6 separate regions of the Homo sapiens genome follow, and regions 2, 3, 4, 5 and 6 are each linked to region 1. The links are contacts of gene promoters, found by promoter capture Hi-C in human tissues and cell types (Jung and others, 2019). All regions are on one chromosome and are shown on one strand. The core of a region is centred on a gene start or on the middle of the fragment in contact, and the rest is flanking DNA. Distances in the headings are between cores, read along the strand shown. Region 1 holds the start of PCDH18 (protocadherin 18). Region 2 has its middle 140 kb from the start of LINC02511. Region 3 has its middle 160 kb from the start of LINC02511. Region 4 holds the start of LOC105377444 (a long non-coding RNA gene). Region 5 overlaps LOC101927414 (a long non-coding RNA gene). Region 6 has its middle 110 kb from the start of LINC02511.

What was found. Contacts are between HindIII fragments. The study calls those that stand out against the background at their distance.
Region 2: a contact is called between a fragment that was not itself captured here and the fragment with the promoter of PCDH18 in region 1, in 1 of the 25 tissues and cell types used here (IMR-90 fibroblasts).
Region 3: a fragment that was not itself captured here is called in contact with the fragment with the promoter of PCDH18 in region 1 in 1 of the 25 tissues and cell types used here (H1 embryonic stem cells).
Region 4: a fragment that was not itself captured here is called in contact with the fragment with the promoter of PCDH18 in region 1 in 2 of the 25 tissues and cell types used here (H1 embryonic stem cells and heart left ventricle).
Region 5: a contact is called between a fragment that was not itself captured here and the fragment with the promoter of PCDH18 in region 1, in 1 of the 25 tissues and cell types used here (spleen).
Region 6: a fragment that was not itself captured here is called in contact with the fragment with the promoter of PCDH18 in region 1 in 1 of the 25 tissues and cell types used here (mesenchymal stem cells).

The regions. Positions count from the first base shown.
Region 1 is chr4:137,530,181-137,533,914 of GRCh38, forward strand. PCDH18 (protocadherin 18) reads right to left here and starts at 2,314. Exons shown (of 4, transcript NM_019035.5): 1 at 1-2,314. The coding sequence starts at 1,908. RefSeq lists an enhancer at 2,223-2,342. The HindIII fragment of the contact is 2,929 bases long and covers 1,226-3,734 here.
Region 2 is chr4:137,347,915-137,351,481 of GRCh38, forward strand. No RefSeq gene overlaps it. Among named protein-coding and RNA genes, the nearest start is that of LINC02511, 140 kb to the left of the region's middle. RefSeq lists an enhancer at 3,005-3,506. The HindIII fragment of the contact is 5,891 bases long and covers 1-3,567 here.
Region 3 is chr4:137,367,199-137,370,990 of GRCh38, forward strand. No RefSeq gene overlaps it. Among named protein-coding and RNA genes, the nearest start is that of LINC02511, 160 kb to the left of the region's middle. The HindIII fragment of the contact is 4,770 bases long and covers 1-3,792 here.
Region 4 is chr4:137,732,059-137,735,684 of GRCh38, forward strand. It overlaps LOC105377444 (a long non-coding RNA gene), which reads right to left and starts at 2,899. Exons shown (of 2, transcript XR_939236.1): 1 at 2,862-2,899. The HindIII fragment of the contact is 4,539 bases long and covers 1-3,626 here.
Region 5 is chr4:137,680,629-137,684,592 of GRCh38, forward strand. The region is part of intron 2 of LOC101927414 (a long non-coding RNA gene); the gene reads right to left. Among named protein-coding and RNA genes, the nearest start is that of LINC02172, 140 kb to the left of the region's middle. The HindIII fragment of the contact is 5,413 bases long and covers 1-3,964 here.
Region 6 is chr4:137,319,925-137,323,952 of GRCh38, forward strand. No RefSeq gene overlaps it. Among named protein-coding and RNA genes, the nearest start is that of LINC02511, 110 kb to the left of the region's middle. The HindIII fragment of the contact is 5,837 bases long and covers 1-4,028 here.

The sequences.
Region 1 (3,734 bases), core at 1,064-3,563:
ACATGATCGTGGATCAATTATGAAGATATTCTCCTCATTACCTGCTACTATGGCGCAGCTGAGTTCAGCATTCACACCAGAGTCTCTGTCAATTGCCCTTATTCTTGTGACATGAAAGCCACTTTCAGCCCCTTTGGGAATGGTGATTTCTGCCGTATTATTACGCAATGCAGGCCCTATAACCACAGGAACGTTGTCATTTTCGTCAATGATGGTGAGCACAACTGTGGTATTGCTTACCAGTTGCTTCGGGCTTCCTCCATCTCTTGCTTCTACCACAAAAGTGATCTGACTCACTTCTTCATGATCAAAGATTCTGAGGGCATAGATGGCTCCATTAGATGGGTCAATGGTTACATATGTAGTTATGGAACTTCCTAGAATAAAACTCTCCAAGATGGTGTATGTCACTTGCCCATTTTCTCCAAGATCAGGATCTGTGGCTGTAACAGTGGTGATATATGCCCCTGGTGAGTTATTTTCTGAAATTACAAATTCATATCGGCTTCTCTGGAAGTGGGGTGGATTGTCATTGATATCATTGATTTGAACTGTAAAATGTTTCACTGTAGAGAGACTGGGTGTCCCCCTGTCCTCAGCGATTACAGTCAAACTATACTCAGATCTCTTTTCTCTATCCAGTGTGGCATTAGTTAAGATTAAATAATTGTTTTCATATGTCTTCTGAAGTTTAAAGTGACCATGTCCATGAAGCTTACAAACTATTTCTCCATTCAGCCCAGAATCCTTGTCCTGAACTCTGACCAAAGCAACAAATGTATCAATAGGATCCCCTTCAAAAATATAAGATATTTCTTCTTTTCCAGGGGACATGAGGTTGATGTTAATTTCAGGTTTATTGTCATTAACATCCACAACCTTAATTATAATTTTGCAATGGGCTGGGATTGAATTTGGACCCAAATCTTGAGCCTGAACATCAATCTCATAGGATTTGGTGATTTCATAATCCACTTGCTTGAAAAGAGTCAAATGTCCTCTTTCAGAATCAATTTTAAAAGTCTCCATAATTTTGGGAGACACATGACTGCTGAAGGAATATACAATTTTCCCATTAGCGCCCTCATCTGGATCCGTGGCATTCAGATCTAAGAGCAAAGTGCCAACCGGGGAGTTTTCTAAGAGTTGTATTATATAAGATTGCTGCTCAAAAGCAGGGCTGTTGTCATTGGAGTCTGAAATGCTTATTTTTAGTATGGATGAGCCAGACCTCTGAGGTACTCCCATGTCTGAGGCAGTGAGCTGAAGCTCGTAGCTTGACTTCAGCTCCCGATCTAACTCTCTGACCACTATGAGTTCTGCATACTTGGCTCCATCAGTCCTGGTCCGAACCTCGATATTAAAAAAATCATTGGCAGAGAGCGAGTATGTGTGGAGGGAATTTTCCCCAACATCTGGATCAAATGCACTGTCCAGGGGAATGCGAGTCCCAACTGCTGCACTCTCAGATATCTCAATAGGTATGAGAGATCTTGAAAACTGGGGAGAATTGTCATTAATATCCAGCACTTCAACTTCAATATGGAAAAGCTGCAGATGCTCTGTGGGTAGAGTGATCACATCAAACTCTATGGAACAGTTCAAGTTTTTCTGGCACAGTTGTTCACGGTCAATTGTAGCCCCTATGCTGATTTCCCCATTATCCTCGTTTACTACAAGTAGAGGAGAATTTCCCCTCTGCATGGCTCGAAATCGAACAGTAGAAGGATTAGGAAGCTTCAATAAAACATCAGCCACATCCTCTGATAGTCTTGCAATTACTGATCCAACCCTCTGTTCCTCATAAATCCTGTATTTCAAATTCTTGCCCAGTACATCGTGGTTGAAAGATACTATCAGAAGTGCAAAAACAAACCTAAAGTGCATTTTAGCATTCATTTGGTGCATTGGTCAGTTTATGAGATTTCCCTCACAGAGCAAGTTAAAACAGCAAAGCAATTGCCTCAACTTCCTTTGGCAACGTAAAGCTACATTTGGTACTTGAAACTTGAAAGCGTCTCTTAATAACACAGCACAGCAATTAACAGCTCGCAAACTTTTGTTTTATACACACCGTGTCACGACTTCCAGATACCTTCGGCATGGAGTCCAGTCCTTGCGTTTGTTTGGTCGTTCGTCCTCTTTCCAGGCAGGAGAGTGTCACCTCCGCGTTTTCTCCCTTGTGTAGTCGGAATCCATCTATTGCAGGGTGCCGGTGGAGTCTGCAGTGTGTCTTTCCTGAGCGATTCTTTCTCCCTTTAGCTGCTCGGCTGCAGACTAAACACCCGTGATTGCTGACTCCAGTCTAAAATCTGTACAACTTCACTTCAACTCAGACAAAGCTCTTGCCCAGCGTGTGTTGAATCGCTTCCAGCCAATCAGCGTGCTTCCAAATCAAAAGCTGATGGAGTCACCCAAGGAGGGAGGGCGAGAGTGGAGGGTGGGAGAGAGAAAGAGACGGAGAAGGAGGAAGGCGGGGGTGGGTGCGCGAGGGAGAGAAGGGGAGATGGGCTGGTGGGGGCTGGGGGAGGAGATGGGAGCCAGTCCTTCCCTGTTCCTTCCTTCTTCCTCCCCACTCCCCCTCCGCCTTTCAATCTACTGCATTCACTTTCTCTGAGCGTGCCATGACAAAGGGGAGACAAATTACAGAAGAAAAACTTTAAATCAACTTCTGGTCGCCTTTATTTATATGGCACGTTAAATTCTTCTTGTTTTCTTAATTGCCCTTTCTTCTGCCACAGACATGTAATCATCTTGCTTTTCATAGTCCTTAAGTGCTAGTTTAACTTAAAATACCTCTAAGTGCGTTTTGTTGGTGGAGGAATTTAATACAATTTGAAAACTTGCTTCTAATTATGCTTCTCAGACCACCTCCTTCCCCACTCCCTCTGTAAATACTTGGGCCTTTCTCCTTCCAGGAGCACAAGCAGATTTTCTTGGGGCTCTGTTTTTAAAGAACGGAGCAAGTAAAGAGGTTTCATTTTCTGTTTTCTTTCATCTTTATTCTTTGAAGATAAAAAAAGGGCTATCTTGCACTCTTCATTTCTCTTAATTAGCAAGACTTAAGGGAACACCTCAGAATTTGGAACTAATTAACAATATAGTTCTACCTTGTATGATTTCTTTCCTTGAGTTTGGGCAAAATTGTTTGTAATATTTCTTTGTCCTGTACTTCAAAAAAATCCTATTTATCTTGGGTAAAAGACACTGCAAGCTTTAGCATGCCAATTTCTACCAAAAGGCACTATCTATACATGGCTAGTCTTTGCAGTGAATACAGGGGGGACATGGACTCAATAGTTTACAAGTCAAATTTTTATAATATATGCATTATTTATGAAAACACTTCAGATATGTATTTTAAAAACCCCAAAGGTTGTTTACACTGACAAATCAAATGCCTGAGCTGAAAATTGCATTTTGTATGCATCAAAATGCTAGGAAATATCATGGGAGGCTTGTGCTCTATCCAGGTCACAGAAACTGATACGGTATTCTTATTTGAAAATATGATTATTTATGATGTTCTTTCTGCTCTGCAATTCCTTTTAAGTTTATCATCGTGGCTCCATTTTTGCTGCTTTTTTTCATACCTTTTTCCTTATTCCTCAGCTGTCTTCATCCGCTTGCATATTTGCTGTTTCACAGAATGTCATTGTCACTTTTTTCCATTTATTTTTTCTCACTGTCTATTTTGCCCCCCAGAAACATATAAAAAAAGTAATTTTCTGATT
Region 2 (3,567 bases), core at 1,051-3,550, 180 kb before region 1:
GAAGGATGTTTTTAAAGAATGTTCTAGAAAACACCAGATTTATCATCTCAAGTAGTCATAGCCCATAGTATCATTTTACCTATTACAATGCATGTTTAAATTTGTGTTGATAGAGGTAAAATCCAAATCTTTTTTTTTTCTTTTTCTTTTTTTTTTTTTTTTTGAGATGGGGTTTCTCTCTGTTGCCCAAGCTGGAGTGCAGTGGTAGGATCTCAGTTCACTGCAAGCTCCACCTCCCGGGTTCATGCCATTCTCCTGCCTCAGCCTCCTGAGTAGCTGGGAATACAGGCGCCCACCACCACCCGTGGCTAATATTTTTGTATTTTTAGTAGAGACAGGGTTACACCGCGTTAGGCAGGTTGGTCCCAATCACCTGACCTCCTGATCCACCCGCCTTGGCCTCCCAAAGTGCTGGGATTACAGGTGTGAGCCACCATGCCTGGCCAATCCAAGTCTTGAAACAAGGAATTTAGATATAGAAAATAATTTTCTGAGAATGTTACAGCAATAATCTTGAAACAATACAAGTCTTGAAACAAGGAATTTAGATATAGAAAAGAATTTTCTGAGAATGTTATAGCAATAACGGCATAAGGCATGTTTTCAGTACGGTTACCAGATAATCAAAATATAAATTCAAAAGTGAGAGTCACAGTCAGATATTTTGATAAAACTTAAAAAAAAAATTTCCTTGTAAGATAATTAAAGATTTTCACTTGGAGCTTATTACAATCATAATGGTTCCAATAAAAAAGTTTCTAATCATACAGAGATGAAATTATACAAAAATAAATAAATCTGAAGGTTTATATCACTAAGAAATGGAGGCAGATTTTTAAAACTCCAGAATCTCAACAAGAGAATTATTTTGACTAGTTTAAGGATTCAAAGCTTAGCTGTTGAAGCATTCCTTTACTTCCTTATACCTTCTTATCACAAATGAAACTGAGGCAGGAATCTCTACAATGAAAACAATAAAACGTCAATACAAGAGATTGAAGAGGACACAAAATTGGAAAGGTATTCCCATGCCCATGGATTGGAAAAAATGATCATGTTAAAATAACCATACTACTCAAAAAAATCCACAGATTTAATGTAATCTCTATCAAAATACCAATGACGTTTTTCACCGAAATAGAAAAAAAAAATCCTAAAATTTGTATATCCCTACCAAAAAAAAAAAAAAAACAAATAAAGCAATTCTGAACAAAATAACAAAGCTGACATCATCATACTATCTGACTTCAAAATATACTACCAAGCTATAGTAACCAAGTCAGCAAGGTATTCCCTTAAAAATAGACACATAGACATATGGAACAGAAAAAAAGAATCCAGAAATAAATCTCTGCATTTACAGTCAACTCATTTTCAACAAAGTTCCCAAGAACATACACTGGAGAAAGGACAGTCTTTCCAATAAAGTATGCTGGGGAAACTGGATATCCATATGCAACATAATAAAACTAGACTCCTATCTCTCAATAGATACAAAAACCAAATCAAAACAGATTAAAGACCTAAATGTAAGACCTGAAGCTATAAAACTTCTGGAAGATAGCATTGGGGAAATGCTTTAGGACATTGGCCTGGGAAAAAAATTAGGGATTATGACCTCAAAAGCACAGGCAACAAAATCAAAACTAGACAGATGAGATTACATTAAGCTAAAAAACAACTTCTGCACAGAAAAGGAAAGAATGTGCAGAGTGAAAGGATAACCTATAAAATGGGGCAAAATATTTTCAAATTGTCCATCTGACACAGATTAATAACCAGAATATAAAAGGAACTCAACTCAAGAGCAGATAATATAATAATAATCTGATTTTTTCTAACAATCTGGATAGATATTTCTCAAAAGGAGACATATGAATGACCTATGGGTATATGAAAAATGCTCAACATCACAAATCATTAGAAAAATGAAAATTAAAATCACAATGAGAATCACCTCACAATCTGTTAGCATGGCTATATAAAAAAGACTAAAGAGGCTGGGCAGGCATGGTGGCTCTCGTCTGTAATCCCAGCATGCTAGGACGCTGGAAGCGGTGGGGGGAACACCTGAGGTCAGGAGTTCGAGACCAGCCTGGCTAACATGGTGAAACCCCATTTCTACTAAAAATACAAAAAATTAGCCAGAAGTGGAGGTGTGCACCTGTAATCTCAGCTACTCAGAAGGTTGAGGCAGGAGAATCGCTTGAACTAGCAGGCAGAAGTTGCAGTGAGCTAAGATAGTGCCATTGCACTCCAGCTTGGGCAACAAGAGCGAAACTCCATTTAGAAAAAAAAAAAAAGACTAAAGATAACAAGTGTAGTCACGGATGTAGAGAAAAAGGAACACTTTTACACTATTTATTGGAATGTCAATTAGTACAACCATTATGGAAAACACTATGGAGGTTCCTCAAAAAACTAAAAATAGAATTACCATATGATCCAGCAATACCACTTCTGGTTTTTACCCAAATGATTTGAAATCAGTTTCTCAAAGATATGTCTGTAGTCACATGTTCTTTCGAGCACTATTCACAATAATTAGTAAATGGAATCTACCAGAGTGGATGTCAACAAATGAATGGATAAAGAAAATGCAGTGTATGTGCACAATGGAATAGTATTCGGCTATAAATACAAAAAATAAAATAAAATTCGCAGATCTGGCAAGATGGCCAAATAGGAACACTTCTGGTCTGCAGCTCCAAGTGAGACCAATGCAGAAGGTGGGTGATTTCTGCATTTCCAACTGAGATACCCAGTTTATGTCACTGGGACTGGTTAGACAGTGTGTGCAGCCCACGGAGGGCAAGCAGAAGCAGGGTGGGGTGTTGCCTCACCCAGGAAGTGCAAGGGGCCAGGGACCTCCCTCCCTTAGCCAAGGGAAGCCATGAGGGACTGTGCTATCTGACTCAGATACTATACTTTTCCCACAGTTTTTGCAACCTGTAGACCAGAAGATTTCCTTGTGTGCTGTACCACCACAGCCCTGGGTTTCAAGCACAAGACTGGACGGCTGTTTGGGCAGACACAGAGCTGACTGCAGGAGTTTGTTTTTTTTTTTTTTTTTTTTTCATACCCTAGTGGTGCCTGGAACCCCAGCAAGACAGAACCATTCATTCCCCTGGAAAGGGGGCTGAAGCCAGGGAGCCACGGGGTCTTGTTCAGTGAGTCCTACACCCACAGAGCCCAGCAAGCTAAGATCCACTGGCTTGAAATTCTTGCTGCCAGCACAGCAGTCTGAAGTTGACGTGGGACACTGGAGCTTGGCGCAGGGAGGGGTGTCCAACATTACTGAGGCTTGAGTAGGCAGTTTTCCCCTCACAGTGTAAACAAAGCCCCTGGGAAGTTTGGACTGGGTGGAGCCCACTGCAGCATGGCAAAGCCGCTGTAGTCAGGCTGCCTCTCTAGATTCCTCCTCTCTGGGCAGGGTATCTCTAAAAGAAAGGCAGCAGCACCAGCCAGGGGCTTATAGATAAAACTCTCATCTCCCTGGGACAGAGCACCTGGGGGAAAGAATGGCTGTTGGTGCAGCTTCAGCAGACTTAAACGTTCCTGCCTGCT
Region 3 (3,792 bases), core at 454-2,953, 160 kb before region 1:
AAGGAATGCAAACATTGGAAATTGTAAATATGTGAATGTATGTATAAGAAAAAAATGTTTATATACACACGTAATGGCTTAAATGAGCAAATGCATTGTTACTTTAGTCTTCAAAGTTTATTATGGTTATCCCCTAATATTACTCCTAAGTACTCTATCAATATCAAAAATTATGTCACAAATATGTATTATAAATTCTTGCTAAATATTTCTAGCTTACATTATGTATTGTAGGTCCTCAGGCTAGGTTCAGAATTCCTAGTATATGGTCACATGGGCTTTCAATACGTTTTTCAGGACATAACCATGGCTGCCCATCCAGTGTCCATTTTTTTCTTTTTCCTTGCTGTTAAGGCTTTGATACTCCTGAATGTGGAATTGTACCCCATTAAAACCATGTGACTCAATTTTGGCCAAAGTGAGGTAAAAATAATGCTGCAAATCAGGACTTTTGCAAAAGGTATTGCTTTACCAATCAGAAGAACATGCTTATGCTTGTTTCCTCTCCGTTTAAGCAGATACTATTGTGGCACTCATATTTCTAGCATGATTCAAAATGCTTTATACTTATAAACAAATGTAATTCTTACAAATGACTCATGAGATAGTTACCATTATTAACCACTATTTAGTAATTTTGAAATTGAAACAGAGAGATCCTGGTAACTTATGCAACCTTAGCCCTTTGGCTGCATCCTCCCTCCTATGTGGAATAAGATGCAATATGTGCAGATGGAACAGCCATTATGTGAATATGAGCAGAAAATCCACATGCTTAAGACGGCAAAGCAGAAAGAGGAAACACTCTGGATTGTTACTGTTGTTCTGGTTCTCTATACCATGGACATCACCCTGGATTTGATATTTGCTCAGAAGTCATTTCTTAATTTTAGCATCTCTTTTTCTATATCTAAATAAGCAGGAAATGAGAAAGTATTTTTTTTAATTCAGTAAATACTAGTTCATGTGTACCTAACAATCTGTTTAGCATAACTTGTTCCTTTCTTATTTTACTATAGACAGGAAGAAGCAAGCAGCATCTTCAAAACTTCCCTGGGAAACATCTGAGATAAGTGGTGGTCTAGATCATTAAACAGATATCCTATTTTTCATGTTACTACAAGTGACAAAGTTTCTAAACTTTCTAATACCACATAACAAGTGTACCCTTTCCTCCGGCCACCAGTATCTACTTTTCTCAAATCTCTCATTGATAGTTTTTTTGAGAGCCATCGGGCTTCATTAATAATCTCTTACTTTTTGGCTTTTATTACCTCTTCTTTCAAGATTTGTCAAGCTTCCTTTTGTCCGCTTGCCACTTGTTTGCAAAGCCATACACACAAATACATAAAATTAAATGTTTTATATAAAACACATAAAATTAAATGTTTTTTATATATGTTAAATATATATATTTGCCAGAATCCCACTTACAGATATCAAAGTCTGCTCAAACAAACCCAAAACTTAGTGACTTGAATGACAACATTAATTTTACTCACAAATCTGCAGTTTGGCCAGGGTTCATCAGAGAGAGTTCATTTCTGCTTCACTCAGTGTCAGTCAGGGAAATTTGAAAACAGTGTTAGAATCACTTGAAAACTCATTCGGGAAAATAATAGAGGTTGATGGTAACTATTGGCTGAGTCTTCAGCTTGTTCTGGGGTTGGGGCTGGAAATCCTACACATGGCCAATCCATGTGGCTGCTTGGATTCTGTACCGAAGGACAGCTGTTTTCTAAGATCAAGCCTCCTAAAAGGATCAGACAAAAGCTTTCTTTCCTTTATAATTTAGACATGGAAGTTACATAGTGTTACTTTTGTAATAGTTGAACCCCACCTTATTCAAGAGGAAACAGCATAAGCTCTACCTCTCAATTATGGAAAGAACATTTAAGATAGAATATATTGGTATATCCATCTTTGGAAATTAGAATCTGTCACAACAAAACTTTTTTAATATGAGAAAACAAATCCCTAGTTGATTAAGCCATTACAGTCAAACTCATAACATGCATATATTTTGTTATGGATATATATGTTTTGGTTTTCATGTTTAATGTCTCCCCTACTAGACTGTAAATCTCACAAGGGCAGAAATTATTTCCATTGTAGGCCGGGCTCAGTGGCTCACACCTATAATCCCAGCACTTTGGCAGGCCGAGGCTGGCAGATCACTTGAGGCCAGGAGTTCAAGACCAGCCTGACCAATATGGTGAAACTGCTTCTCTACTAAAAATACAAAAAATTAGCCGGGCATGGTGGTGCATGCCTGTAATCCCAGTTACTCAGGAGGCTGAGGCAGGGGAATTGTTTCAACCCAGGAGGTGAAAGTTGCAGTGAGCAGAGATCGAGCCACCGCACTCCAGCCTGGGTGATAGAGCAAGACACTGTCTCAAAAAAAAATAATAATAAAAGAAAGAAAGAATTTCCTTCTTGTTCACATTGGCTCTTAATAAAAAGTTTTGTAAATGAATACATGGATAAACACTGAGGCAAAACAAAGGCTGAGAGCTTTGGGAGTTAAAGTTCTTTGACCACGGTCAACTATGAAGCTCCATGTTGTGTTACATTCTGACGCACAGTTGCCTTGGCACACAGCCTCATGGATCTGATTTGCTTCTGAGGCTTAAAGGTGGCTTGGTTTATAAATTGCTCAGGAATTATAAGTAAGTGTGTGTTTGTGCGTGTGTGTGTGTGTATGTTTGTGTCGAGGAACAAAAGCAAAGACTATAAAAACAGAGAGCAACCAACAAAATGAATTCAGTTCCTTGGCAATAACTTTCTAAGACATTTTATTGGTAACCTCAATCTGCTCTACAATTTCCTAATGAAACAAATTTTATGTAACCCTGAACTTGTGCACCAAGACGAAATGAAAGAGGTAAGAATGGTTTTAAGTCATAAAACATAAAACATAAAAATGTTTTAATTTTTCATGAGAGACCAGGAATAGCAAGGTCGTGTGAGAATATCTAAAATAATCTATCCTGAAAGCATAAGAAACCCCAAAACATAGCAGTAATGTCATTAGTCATATTATGTTCAGTAGAAATAAGACAAACTGTTGCTACTATTGTTAGATGTATTGTTTAAAGTAGTATTGCCAGAATGTCATACATTGGATTGCATAATATTTACACTCACATTTCTTCCAAAGCATACATTCAATAATTTTTTTAAAGTGTCTCAGAGAAAAAAAATGAAACATTTTTTCACCTATGACACGTGCAATTACTTCACCGTCTAAGGAATGCATGTTGTAAATACTGGATTTATAGCAACACCTCAGATAATTACACAGTTTACGGGGTACTAAGCAGGAAAAGAATTGCTGACTGTCCACACAATGTCCTCTTTTATTCACTACTAGTCTCAGAAGAATGTGACCATATAGGTTAACTATGTTTATGTTGTTCTCAAGGAGAAGAGAGTTAAAAGGCAATATTCTTTTTAACAAGCTGAACCAACTTGTTGGAAAGAAATAAAACCTTATAAAAATTGGAACAAATATCTTCAAACCAATATGTTATTTGAAACACTATTTTACATGGTACATTCATTTTTGTCTCACCCTCACATAACTCTGCAAATAGCTATTCAATTCAAACTGTCTCAAGGGTAAAAGTATAAAGCTCAATGTTTCTGTTGGATTTAGTGGAGCTCATAGAGCGTCTGGATTTGTTGGTCATGGCATTCCCTCTTAAACCCTCAAGTGTCTGTTTGAGCCAGTTTATACCAGAACAATTCAACAATTCAGGGTTTCCTTTTGTGTGTAGAAACATGTGTTTA
Region 4 (3,626 bases), core at 404-2,903, 200 kb after region 1:
TTCATGTTTTAAGGATCATTTTGCTGGACATAATGTTCTAGGTTGGATTTTATTTCCCCTGCACTCTTAATATGTCATCCCACTCTCTCTTCACCTGTAAAGTTTCCACTGATAAGACTACTACCAGACATATGGGAGCTCTTCTATATGGCATTTCCTTATTTTCTTTTAAAGCTTTTAGTGTCCATTCTTTATCCTTGACCTTTGACGGTTTTATTATTTTATGGCTTGAGGTGGTTTTATCTCGGTTGAACCTGCTTGATGTTCTATAAACTTACAGGACACAAATATTCATCTCTCTCTCTAGGCTTGGAAAGTTCTCTGTTATTATTTCTTTGAATAAATTTTCTACTTTGATCTCTCTCTCACTCTCTCCAATTTCTATAAAGCCAATCACTCTTAGATTTTCCCCTTTGAGGCTTTTTTTCTAGATCTTGTAGTTGTGTGTCTTTATTTTTTTTTCTTTTCTGTCTGTGTATTTTCATATAGCCTGTCTTCAAGTTTGCTATTTCTTTATGCTTAGTCAATTCTGCTTTTAGGAGACTGATGTATTTTTCAGTTTGTCAATTGAATTTTTAGTTCCAGAATTTCTGCTTGATTTTTAAAAATTATTATTCCAGTCTTTTTGTTGTGTTTCTCTGATAGAATTCTAAATTCTCTGTGTTATTTTCAAGTTCACTGACCTTCCTATAGACAGCTATTTTGAATTCTCTGTCTGAAAGGTCACATATCTCTAACACTCTAAGATTGGTCACTGGTGCTTTTATTTGGAGATGTCATGTTTCCTTTCAAATTCTTTTTTGTTTTGTTTTTTGAAACGGAATCTCACTCTGTCGCCCAGGCTGGAGTGCAGTGGCGTGATCTCGGCTCACTGCAAGCTCCGCCTCCTGGGTTCACGCCATTCTCCTGCCTCAGCCTCGCGAGTAGCTGGGACTACAGGTGCCCGCCACCACGCCCGGCTAATTTTTTTTGTATTTTTAGTAGAGATGGGGTTTCACCGTGTTAGCCAGGATGGTCTCCATCTCCTGACCTCGTGATCCGCCCGTCTCGGCCTCCCAAAGTGCTGGGATTACAGGCGTGAGCCACCGCGCCCGGCCTCCTTTCATATTCTTAATGCTTGTGGACATTTGTCAAGGTCTAGGCATTGAAGAGATAGGTATTTATTTTGATCTTGAGAGTCTGGGCTTGTTTGTACTGGTCCTTGAAAAGGCTTTCCATGTGTTTAGAAGGGGTTGAGTGCTGTGATCTAAGCCCGTGGTCATTGCATCCATATCAGCACTAGGGGGCTCCCTAAGCTCAGGAATGCTGCACCCTTAAGGGACTCCTAGAGGGAGCGGCAGGCTTGAGTAAGATAAGAAAGAAAATTCGTGAAGCCTTCCGTATTTTTTGGAAACCATCATCCTCAGCAAACTAACACAGGAACAGAAAACCAAACATCGCATGTTCTCACTCATAAGTGGGAGTTGAACAATGAGAACACATGGACACAGGGAGGTGAACATTATGAGAGCTGCTGGCAGTCCTCACAGCCCTCGCTCGCTCTCGGCGCCTCCTCTGCCTGGGCTCCCACTTTGGCGGCACTTGAGGAGCCCTTCAGCCCGCCGATGCACAGTGGGAGCCCCTTTCTGGGCTGGCCAAGGCCGGAGCCCACTCCCTTAGCTTGCAGGAAGGTGTGAAGGGAGAGGCGCCAGCGGGAGCCAGGGCTGCGCGCGGCGCTTGCCGGCCAGCTGGAGTTCTGGGTGGGCGTGAGCTTGGCGGCCCCGCACTCGAAGCAGCTGGTCCGCCCTGCAGGCCCTGGGCAATAAGGGGCTTAGCATCCGGGCCAGCGGCTGCGGAGGGTGTACTGGGTCTCCCAGCAGTGCCAGCCCGCCGGCGCTGCGCTCGATTTCTCACCGGGCCTTAGCTGCCTTCCCGTGGGGCAGGGCTCCGGACCTGCAGCCCGCCATGCCTAAGCCTCCCACCCCCTCCATGGGCTCCTATGCGGCGGGAGCCTCCCCAACCAGTGCCACCCCCTGCTCCACGGCACCGAGTCCCATTGACCACCCGAGGGCTGAGAAGTGCCGGTGCACGGCACAGGACTGGCAGGCAGCTCCACCTGCGGCCCCAGTGCGGGATCCACTAGGTGAAGCCAGCTGGGCTCCTGAGTCTGGTGGGGACGTGGAGAACCTTTATGTCTAGCTCAGGGATTGTAAATACACCAATCGGCACTCTATATCTAGCTCAAGGTTTGTAAACCCACCAATCAGCACCCTGTGTCTAGCTCAGGGTTTGTGAGTGCACCAATCGACACTCTGTATCTAGCTACTCTGGTGGGGCCTTGGAGAACCTTTGTGTCCATACTCTGTATCTAACTAATCTGGTGGGGATGTGGAGAACCTTTGTGTCTAGCTCAGGGATTGTAAACGCACCAATCAGCGCCCTGTCAAAACAGACCACGCGGCTCTACCAATCAGCAGGACATGGGTGGGGCCAGATAAGAGAATAAAAGCAGGCTGCCGGAGCCAGCAGTGGCAACCCGCTTGGGTCCCCTTCCACCCTGTGGAAGCTTTGTTCTTTCGCTCTTTGCAATAAATCTTGCTACTGCTCACTCTTTGACTCCACACTGCTTTCATGAGCTGTAACACTCACTGCGAAGATCTGCAGCTTCACTCCTGAAGCTAGAGAGCCCACAAGCCCACCGGGAGGAATGAACAACTCCAGATGCACTACCTTAAGAGCTCTAACACTCACCGCCAAGGTCTGCAACTTCACTCCTGAGCCAACGAGACCACGAACCCACCAGAAGGAAGAAACTCCAAACACATCTGAACATCAGAAGGAACAAACTCCAGGTGCGTCACCTTAAGAGCTGTAACACTCACCACGAGGATCCACGGCTTCATTCTTGAAGTCGGTGAGACCAAGAACCCACCAATTCCAGACGTAATTACACAGCGGGGCCTGTCGGGGAGTCGGGGAAAAGGGAAGGGAGAGCATTATAACAAAAACCTAACACATGCCGGGTTTAAAACCTAGATGACGGGTGGATAGGTGTAGCAAACCACCACCGCACATGTATACCTATGTAACAAACTTGCACGTTCAGCACATATATCCCAGAACTTAAAGTAATTTTTTTTAAAAGAAAGAATTCCCTGGGTTACTAAGGGAATTACTAAGCAAAGGCTCTCACTCCCTTCCCTCTCTTCCCGCTAATCAGAAGGAATTTCCCTTCCTGTTAGGCTGCCTGGAGTTGGGGGAGGGCAATTCTGTGGCCACCACAGCTGGGAGTGTGCTGGGTAATCGAGGGCAGCACAGTACTGGGTCTTGTCCAAGGCCCATGATGACTACTACCTGGCTACTGCCGATGTTTATTCCACGACCAGGGGCTCTTTTGTCAGTAGATGGTGAATCCAGCCAGAAATGGATCCTTCCCTTCAGGATAGCAGATTCCCTTCTGTCCCAGTGTGGGTCTAAAAATGTCATTCAGGAGCTCAGACCTGGAATTAGGGCCTTCAGAAATCTGCCTAGTGCTTTATTTTACTGTAGCTGAGCTGGAAACCAAGTTGCACGACAATGTTTTTGTACTCTTCCCTGTCCATTCTCCAAGTGAAGAGTCTCCTCCTGAGCTGTACTGGATGGAGTAG
Region 5 (3,964 bases), core at 1,073-3,572, 150 kb after region 1:
AGTTGTAAGCTATTGCTTAATTACCAAATCAAGATTTTTTTACTTCAGCTACTGAATCCAGGTGAAAGAAACTATCTCTGTTCTATTTATAACATGAAAGAGTTCTAAAGCACATATGTTTAACAAATTGCATTTGCACTTTATCATCTCAACACTCTTTCACTAGAATGAACAGATAAGCCCACTTCCTCCAAAATAACTGGTGTGGGATTGTACCTATGGTGCACCCATCTTATACTCTTTGTGTTTAAAGGACTAGATCATAGGTTGTCTATGAAGGGAAATGCTAATATCATGTTTGCTAAGGTTTACACCAGCCAAAGTGCATTGAATTCTAATCTTAGAGTCAATTAGAAGCACAATTATCACATCTCCCCTTCTTTCTTCCCACAGAAATATCTTCATTACCAACACAGTGCTTGGCCAGCAGGGCAGTGGTTAAGACTAAACACCCAACCCTCAAAATCCCAGGTTATATTTAAGCACATTTTCATGTATTAAAATGAAACAGTCTATCCTGGGATTGGCTCAGAAGCAAGTTAATTCTTGTTAATGGATTTTTTGTTGTTGTTGTTCTAGAGGAAAATCCCCTTAAAAGCTCCCCTGGTGTGGCTTTCTATTGGAGCTGGCCTGAAGACAGAAATTTCCTAGAATGAGAAGGTTTTTTGCACTAGGGAAATGTTTAAACATAGCCATTGATTCTGCTGGCCAAATACATAACAGAGATCAACATTGCAAGAAGTACTGGAGCTTAATAATATCGAACACTTTCCCATACTGAGGGTTATTCATACTAAATATTAGTCTGGAAGTCTATTCTGATGCTGTCCCTATCCACTCTTAACTCTCCACATTTCCTCCTCATACATGTAATTTTTTCCAGGTGTACAACAAAAGCCCCTTTCCTTCAACAAACAGCCTGCAGATAATTGTGTTTTTCCTCATGTACAGAGGAAAAAGGGCATACATACAACACAGCACAAAATAGATCCAAATACATAGCCTCATAGAAAAACTAGAAAAATAATACCTGTGGAAGTTTACTCAAGCACCAACCTTTCTCTCTTTTTGCTTTCTAAGAAGGATCATCCACTGTCAATGGTAACTCTGAGACTCTTAGGATGAAGCTTGGCTAGCTAAGTTTCTACCACCATCCCTACCCAACCAATTGTGAGTGAAGAATTTATTAACCTGAATAACGATGGTCCACTATACTAGTGTACACTCAAAACTGTTTATGATGACTCCAGTGAAACTAAAATTTTAACATAGGCAGGTAGATACAACATGCATTTGCTCTCCAGCCTGGGAGAGGTGGGGTGGAATGTTTTATATGGATGCTATATGTCTATTTCATGTTATTTTTTAAGGTTCACTCATAAATCATTTTCAGAGACACATGCACATATATAGACATACACACTGAATTCTTCATTCACAAGATTCATATGAAATTTTATTCTATAATAAAGCTACTTCTCTTATACTACTACTGGCATTTTACCTCTATGTTTCTCATCCATCAATGCTATGAAAATTATATAATGAGATATACCCTACTGTTGCCTAAAGCATATGTGCAAATTAATCATTTTCATTTTTGTACATAGAGAGAATATAGAGAATTCAAGATCAACTGGAAAAAGGTACTTTCAAGTGGAGGTTCTATTTGACCCCAATAATAACATTAATTTTTTCATGTGTTGCCAACAATGTGATCCCTTAGCCTCTTAAATTATATGAATCATGTCGCATTATTAACATTATTTCAAAATCAATGTAATTTAATGCCATGTAATTTGTATATTTGTGAGTTAAGAGGTGCAGGGCATCCATTTCTCCTTTACTAGATTAAAAAAGTGGGAGAGGATTACACCAATAACTGTTTGATTTGTTCAATCATAGGGTAAAAGTAAATCAGAATGAAGTGATGAAGATCAGCAGTACACAGATTGGATAATTCAGTAATTCTAATGCAGATATCTTTTATCAAAGGTAGTCTTTTCTTTTATTTTTTCAGAATGTAAGCATAAATATTGTCTGCTTTGCAATGAGATGCAATGATAGCATAGAGTTGCCAAGAGGCTCGAGCTGTTCTGTCCTCATCGACATGAATGGGTCTTGCCTGAATGTTTAGAGGAAGAGATAAGATGCAAGCAACTGTTTTCCCCCTGGTACCCTTGACTTACAACTACAGCTATTCCAAAAGTTTTTGTTTTTCCTTTAGGCTATGAGAAGTTTAAGTCTCTGTTTGAAATATATTACAAATAGGAAACAGAACACTTTATAACAAAAAATGTGGAGGAGAGTAGTAGAGGTGAAAAAATAAAAAAAGGTTTCCTACAGTTCTTGGTTGCCCTATTAATATGCTTATTGATCACATTGAGGGTCTTCTAAGAATGGACAGCTTTGAAAATAGCTATAACAACTGTACAAGTCACTCCATCTATCAATATTTGACTTCTGCATAATAAACCATTCATTGGCATTTGACAGATATTTATGATTTTCAAGTGAAGCACTGTTGTTTATTTTGATTTTGATTTATAATTTGAAATAATCTTCCCAGAAGAATATTAAATATTGTGCTTGACACATTAGTTGAAGTTGTGTCATCATCTATTACTAAAATATACCGACATAAAATATTAGATGGTTTTCTGTCAGCCTAAAATATTTCTGACAGTGAATCTTAAATAGATCATTAATGTTCATACTTCTGTTGCATGCTGAAAGATTCAGCTGATGATTGAAGGGCCTTTTCAACTTTCAGAGTTGTACTGAGTTTTACAGATCATAGAATAACATAGCTGGAGCAATCTTAGTTATTCTTTAGTTTTAGAACAGCTAAAAGTTTAAAGAGGTTAAGTGATTGTTAACAACCTACAGGTGAAATTTGTATTAAGTAAAATAGCCCTTTAGTTATAAAAACTAAATAAAAATTCAACATATCAGAAAATATGCAGAAAACGTTTCTAGTCTTGTGCATGGTATTATGTCTGATCCTTTCAAATGGGTTAGTACTTTAGATATTGAAGAAATTAGAGAAGCATGTTTTATCACAACGCCAGAATGTGGTATCATTAGGTGGTTCAAACACTTTTAAACTCTATTCCTAGGACAGGTTAGTACCATTTGGATAACTAATGTTTGATTCTGTCAATAGTGAAAAGTCAGTGAAATGTTCTAATAAAGTTTTTTTTTTAAATTTTATTTATTTTTTTGAGACAGAGTTTTGCTCTGTCGCCCAGGCTGGAGTGTGGTAGTGCAATTTGGGCTCACTGCAGCCTCCACATCCCGGGCTCAAGTGATTCTCCTGCCTCATCCTCCCAGAGTAGCTGGGATTACAGGCATGAGCCACCACACCCAGCTAATTTTTGTATTTTTAGGAGGGACAGGGTTTTCGCCAGGCTGGTCTCGAACTCCTAACCTCAAGCGATCCGCCCGCCCTAGCCTCCCACAGTGCTGTGATTACAGGCATGAGCCACCATGCCTGGCCCTAATAAAGTTTAGATAGTTGGATTTTGATAAATATTCATTCATCCAGTTTAACAAAATGTCATACAAACAGTATGCATATTAATATGTTTTGTTATGATGATGAAACTGTGCAAATGGAAAAAGCCCATACCACACAAATGGGAATTCATTTGCCTTCCAGCAATTTATTTTCACTTCCCGGCCTCCAAATTAATAGTAACTATAATAAAATGTGTTTGGAAAGGAGGTTTGATCATTATATTTCTCCTTTTCCAGACTATGCAAACTAATAAATCATAATTAACACTAGGGATATTTTAAGCAGGATCCATTTTACCATTATTTTTATAATATATAATTGCAGCTACAAATGTATGCTCCTGAATAGCTACTTAAATTTTTTTTTCAGAGAAACACATTTGTTTAAAATTGTAAAAATTTATAAGAGAGGGAGATTAGGGAACTTCTAACCTTTATAAACATA
Region 6 (4,028 bases), core at 144-2,643, 210 kb before region 1:
GAACTTCTGGTCAGAAAATCAGCAAGGATATAGAAGAATGAATAAGTGCAATCTAATGAACATTTACAGAACACTATGATCAACAACAGCAGGATATACAGACTTTTTGTATTAGTCTGTTCTCAGGCTGCTAATAAAGATATACCCAAGTCTGGGTAACTTATAAAGGAAAGAGGTTTAATTGACTCACAGTTCCAGACGGCTGGGGAGGCATCACAATCATTGCCGAATGTGAATGAGGAGCAAAGTCATCTATTACATGGCAGCAGGCAAGAGAGCTTGTGTAGGGAAACTCCTATTTATAATATTATCAGATCTCATAAGACTTATTCACGACCAAGAGAACAGTATGGAGGAAACCACCCCTGTAATTCAATTATCTCCACCTGACCCCACCCTTGACATGTGGGGATTATTACAATTCAATTTGAGATTTGGATGGGGACACAGCCAAACCATATCATTCTGCCCCTGGCCCCTCCCAAGTCCCATGTCCTCACATTTGAAACCCAATCATGCCTTCCTGACAGTCCCTCAATGTCTTAATTCATTCCAGCATTAACTCAAAAGTCCAAGTCTAAAGTTTCATCTGAGACAAGTCCTTTCCACCTATGAGCCTGTAAAATAAAAAATAAGTTAGTTACTTCCTAGATACAATGGGAGTACAGGTATTGGGTGAATACACCCTTTCCAAATGGGAGAAATTGGCCAAAATGAAGAGGTTACAGGCCACATGCAAGTCTGAAATCCAGCAGGGCAGTCAAATCTTAAAGCTCCAAAATGATCTCCTTTGACTCCATGTCTCACATCCAGGTTATTTTACCCAGGTAATGATGTTGCCAAAGGTGGGTTCCCATGGCCTTGGGCAGCTCCGCTCCTGTGGCTTTACAGGGTATATCCCCATACCTGGCTGTTTTCATGGGCTGGCATTGAGTGTATGAGGCTTTTCCAAGCACACGGTACAAACTGTCCATGATTCTGCCATTCTGGACTCTGCAGGATCATAGCCCTCTTCTCACAGCTCCACTAGACAGTGTCCCAGTGGGGACTCTGTGTTGGGGTTTCAACCCCACATTTCTCTTCCACGCTGCCCTAGCAGGGACCCACCCCTGCAGCAAACTTCTGCCTGGACACACAGGCATTTCCATACATCCTCTGACATCTATGGAGGTTCACAAACCTCAATTCTTGACTTCTGTTTACCCGCAGGCTCAACATCATGTGGAAGCTGCCAGGGTTTGGGGCTTGCATCCTCTGGAGCCACAGCCTGAGCTGTACCTTCGTCCCTTTTAGCTATGACTGAAGCATCTGGGACCTGGGCACTAAGTCCCCAGGCTACACACAGCAGGGAGCGCTGGGCTCGGCCCACAAAACCAATTTTTCCTCTTAGGCCTCTGGCTTGTGATATGAGGGGCTGCTGTGAAGGTCTCTGACATGCCCTGGAGACATTTTCCCGATTGGCTTGGTGATTAACATTCAGCTCCTCATTACTTATGCAAATTTCCACAGACAGCTTGAATTACTCCCCAGAAAATTTTTTTTTCTACTGCATCATCAGGCTGAAAATTTCCCAAACTTCTATGCTCTACCTCCTCTTGAACATGTTGCCACTTAGAAATTTCTTTCACCAGATACATTAAATCATCTCTCTCAAGTTCAAAGTTTCACAGATCTCTAGGGCAGGGGCAAAATGCCACCAGTCTGTGCTAAAACATAGCAAGAGTCACCTTTGCTCCAGTTCCCAACAAGTTCTTCATCTCCATCTGAGACCACCTCACCCTGGACCTTATTATTCATATCGCTATCAGCATTTTGTTCAAAGCCACTTAACAAGTCTCTAGGAAGTTCCAAACTTTCCCACATCCTCCTGTCTTCTTCTGAGCCCTCCAAACTGTTCCAACCTCTGCCTGTTACCCAGTTCCAAAGTCGCTTCCACATTTTCAGGTATCTTTACAGCAGTGCCTCACTACCTGATACCAATTTACTGGATTATTAGTGTAAACTGTATTAGACAATTAGTCTGTTCTCACACTGCCAATAAAGACCTATTCAAGGCTGGGTCATTTATAAAGGAAAGAGGCTTAATTGACTCACAGTTCCACATGGCTGGGGAGGTCTCACAACCATGGCAGAAGGCAAATGAGGAGCAAAGTCACCCATTACACGGTGGCAGGCAAGAGAGCTTGTGTAGGGGATCTCCCATTTATAAAACCATCAGGTCTCATGAGATTTATTCACTACCACGAGAACAATATGGGGAAAACCACCCCCATGAGTCAATTATCTCCACCTGGCCCTGCCTTTGACACATGTGGATTATTACAATTCAAGGTGAGATTTGGGTGGATACACAATCAAACCATATCACTTTTTAGATGTACACGTAATGTTCAACAAGGCAGGCTCTTTTGTGGGGGGGGAGGGTAATAAAACACACTTCAATAAATTTTAAAAAATGTAAATGATACTAATTGTTTTCTTTGAGCATAATTGAATTAAATAAGACAAATACAGAAAGAGGACAGGAAAATCTTCAAGTGTTTGGAAATTAAACAGCACATTTCTAAAGAATTTGCGGGTCAGAAAACAAGTCTCAAGAGAAAGTAGAAAATACTCAGAACTAAATGAAAGCAATATCAAAATATGTGGCTATAGCCAGTCTTAGAGAAAAAGCACTAGAACAGTGCTAAAGCAACAAAGTAGCTAAAGCAATGCTCAGAGGGAAATTTATAGATGCTCGGAACAGCAGAAAAATCTCAAAGCTAAATTTCTACCACAAGAAACCAAAGAAGAAGAAGAAGAAGAAGAAGAAGAAGAAGAAATAGAAAAAAATAAAAATGAACCCAAACAAACAGAAGGAAGGAAATAACTAAAGACAGGAGCAGAAAATCAGTGAAACTGAAAACAGGACATTAGCCTGTGCCTATAGTAAGATAATGTGAGAAGATAGTGAATCAGTGAAAGAATGAAAAAGAGTCATCAGAGAGGAAAAGAAAAATAAATTATCTCATTTGAATTTTAGGGAGAAATGTCAACAGGAATGGGCTAGACAGTAATATCAACACCACAAAGGTCAAGCAGGAGAATTAGGAGCATTGGTTAAACTGTAACAATGGGGGAGTTCGTTCCTGACTTTTAATGTAATAATAAAGTCAAGGTAGTATAGAAGTGTAATTTCAATTATCTCACTGCTAAAACATAAAGATATGGAAATAATTTTGTAACCACTCTTAAAGACAGTATGGGAGCTTGATCAGGTATCACAATTAAAGAAAAAAGCTTTAATATATTTTACAACTGCTTATGTTTGAAGATCTTACCAAAGAGCCACTGAGGAATAAATAGAAAATGACCAATTGTGAGGTGATAGATATGTGAATTATCCCGATTTGATCATTATACATTGTATACATGTATCAAAATATCACACTGTATCCATAAATATGTATGTACAATTATGTGTCAATTAAAATAATAAAAAAGTGTGAAGTTTTGAGGGCCAAGAAAAAAAGAAAATGAGTAATTATAAGATGAAAGAATGGAAGAAGTGATCAATGGAATAGTTCAGAAGGAATGCTGGATGAGATGAAGAATAGACTGGAAGAGGTGCCATTGTTGGGGAGGAGAGGAGGACGTTAAATTGGAAAAAGAATGACGGTGTATCCTTGGAAATTAGAAATCATGGACAAATCATGGAAAATGTTCAGAGAAATTTTGAAAGATATGGATAGTAACATTTTTAAAGTTTTAATTAACTTGTTTTATTATTTGTAAATTTGGAGGCAGTTAACTCACTCTAATAATGAGACAGAATGGCTGTAGGGTCTTCAGAAAAGTGAAAAACCTGCAATTAAGAAATGTTTGGGAATGTATTTATGTACTGAGATTTATTTACATATGAATAAAAAGCACTGTTTAGCGCAAAATATTCAAGTGAGATTAGGTAATATGATACTATGAATTTTACTGAAACAAGAAACATGACTAATGAATTTCTCCAATATCTAGTGACAAAACATCTCCACCAT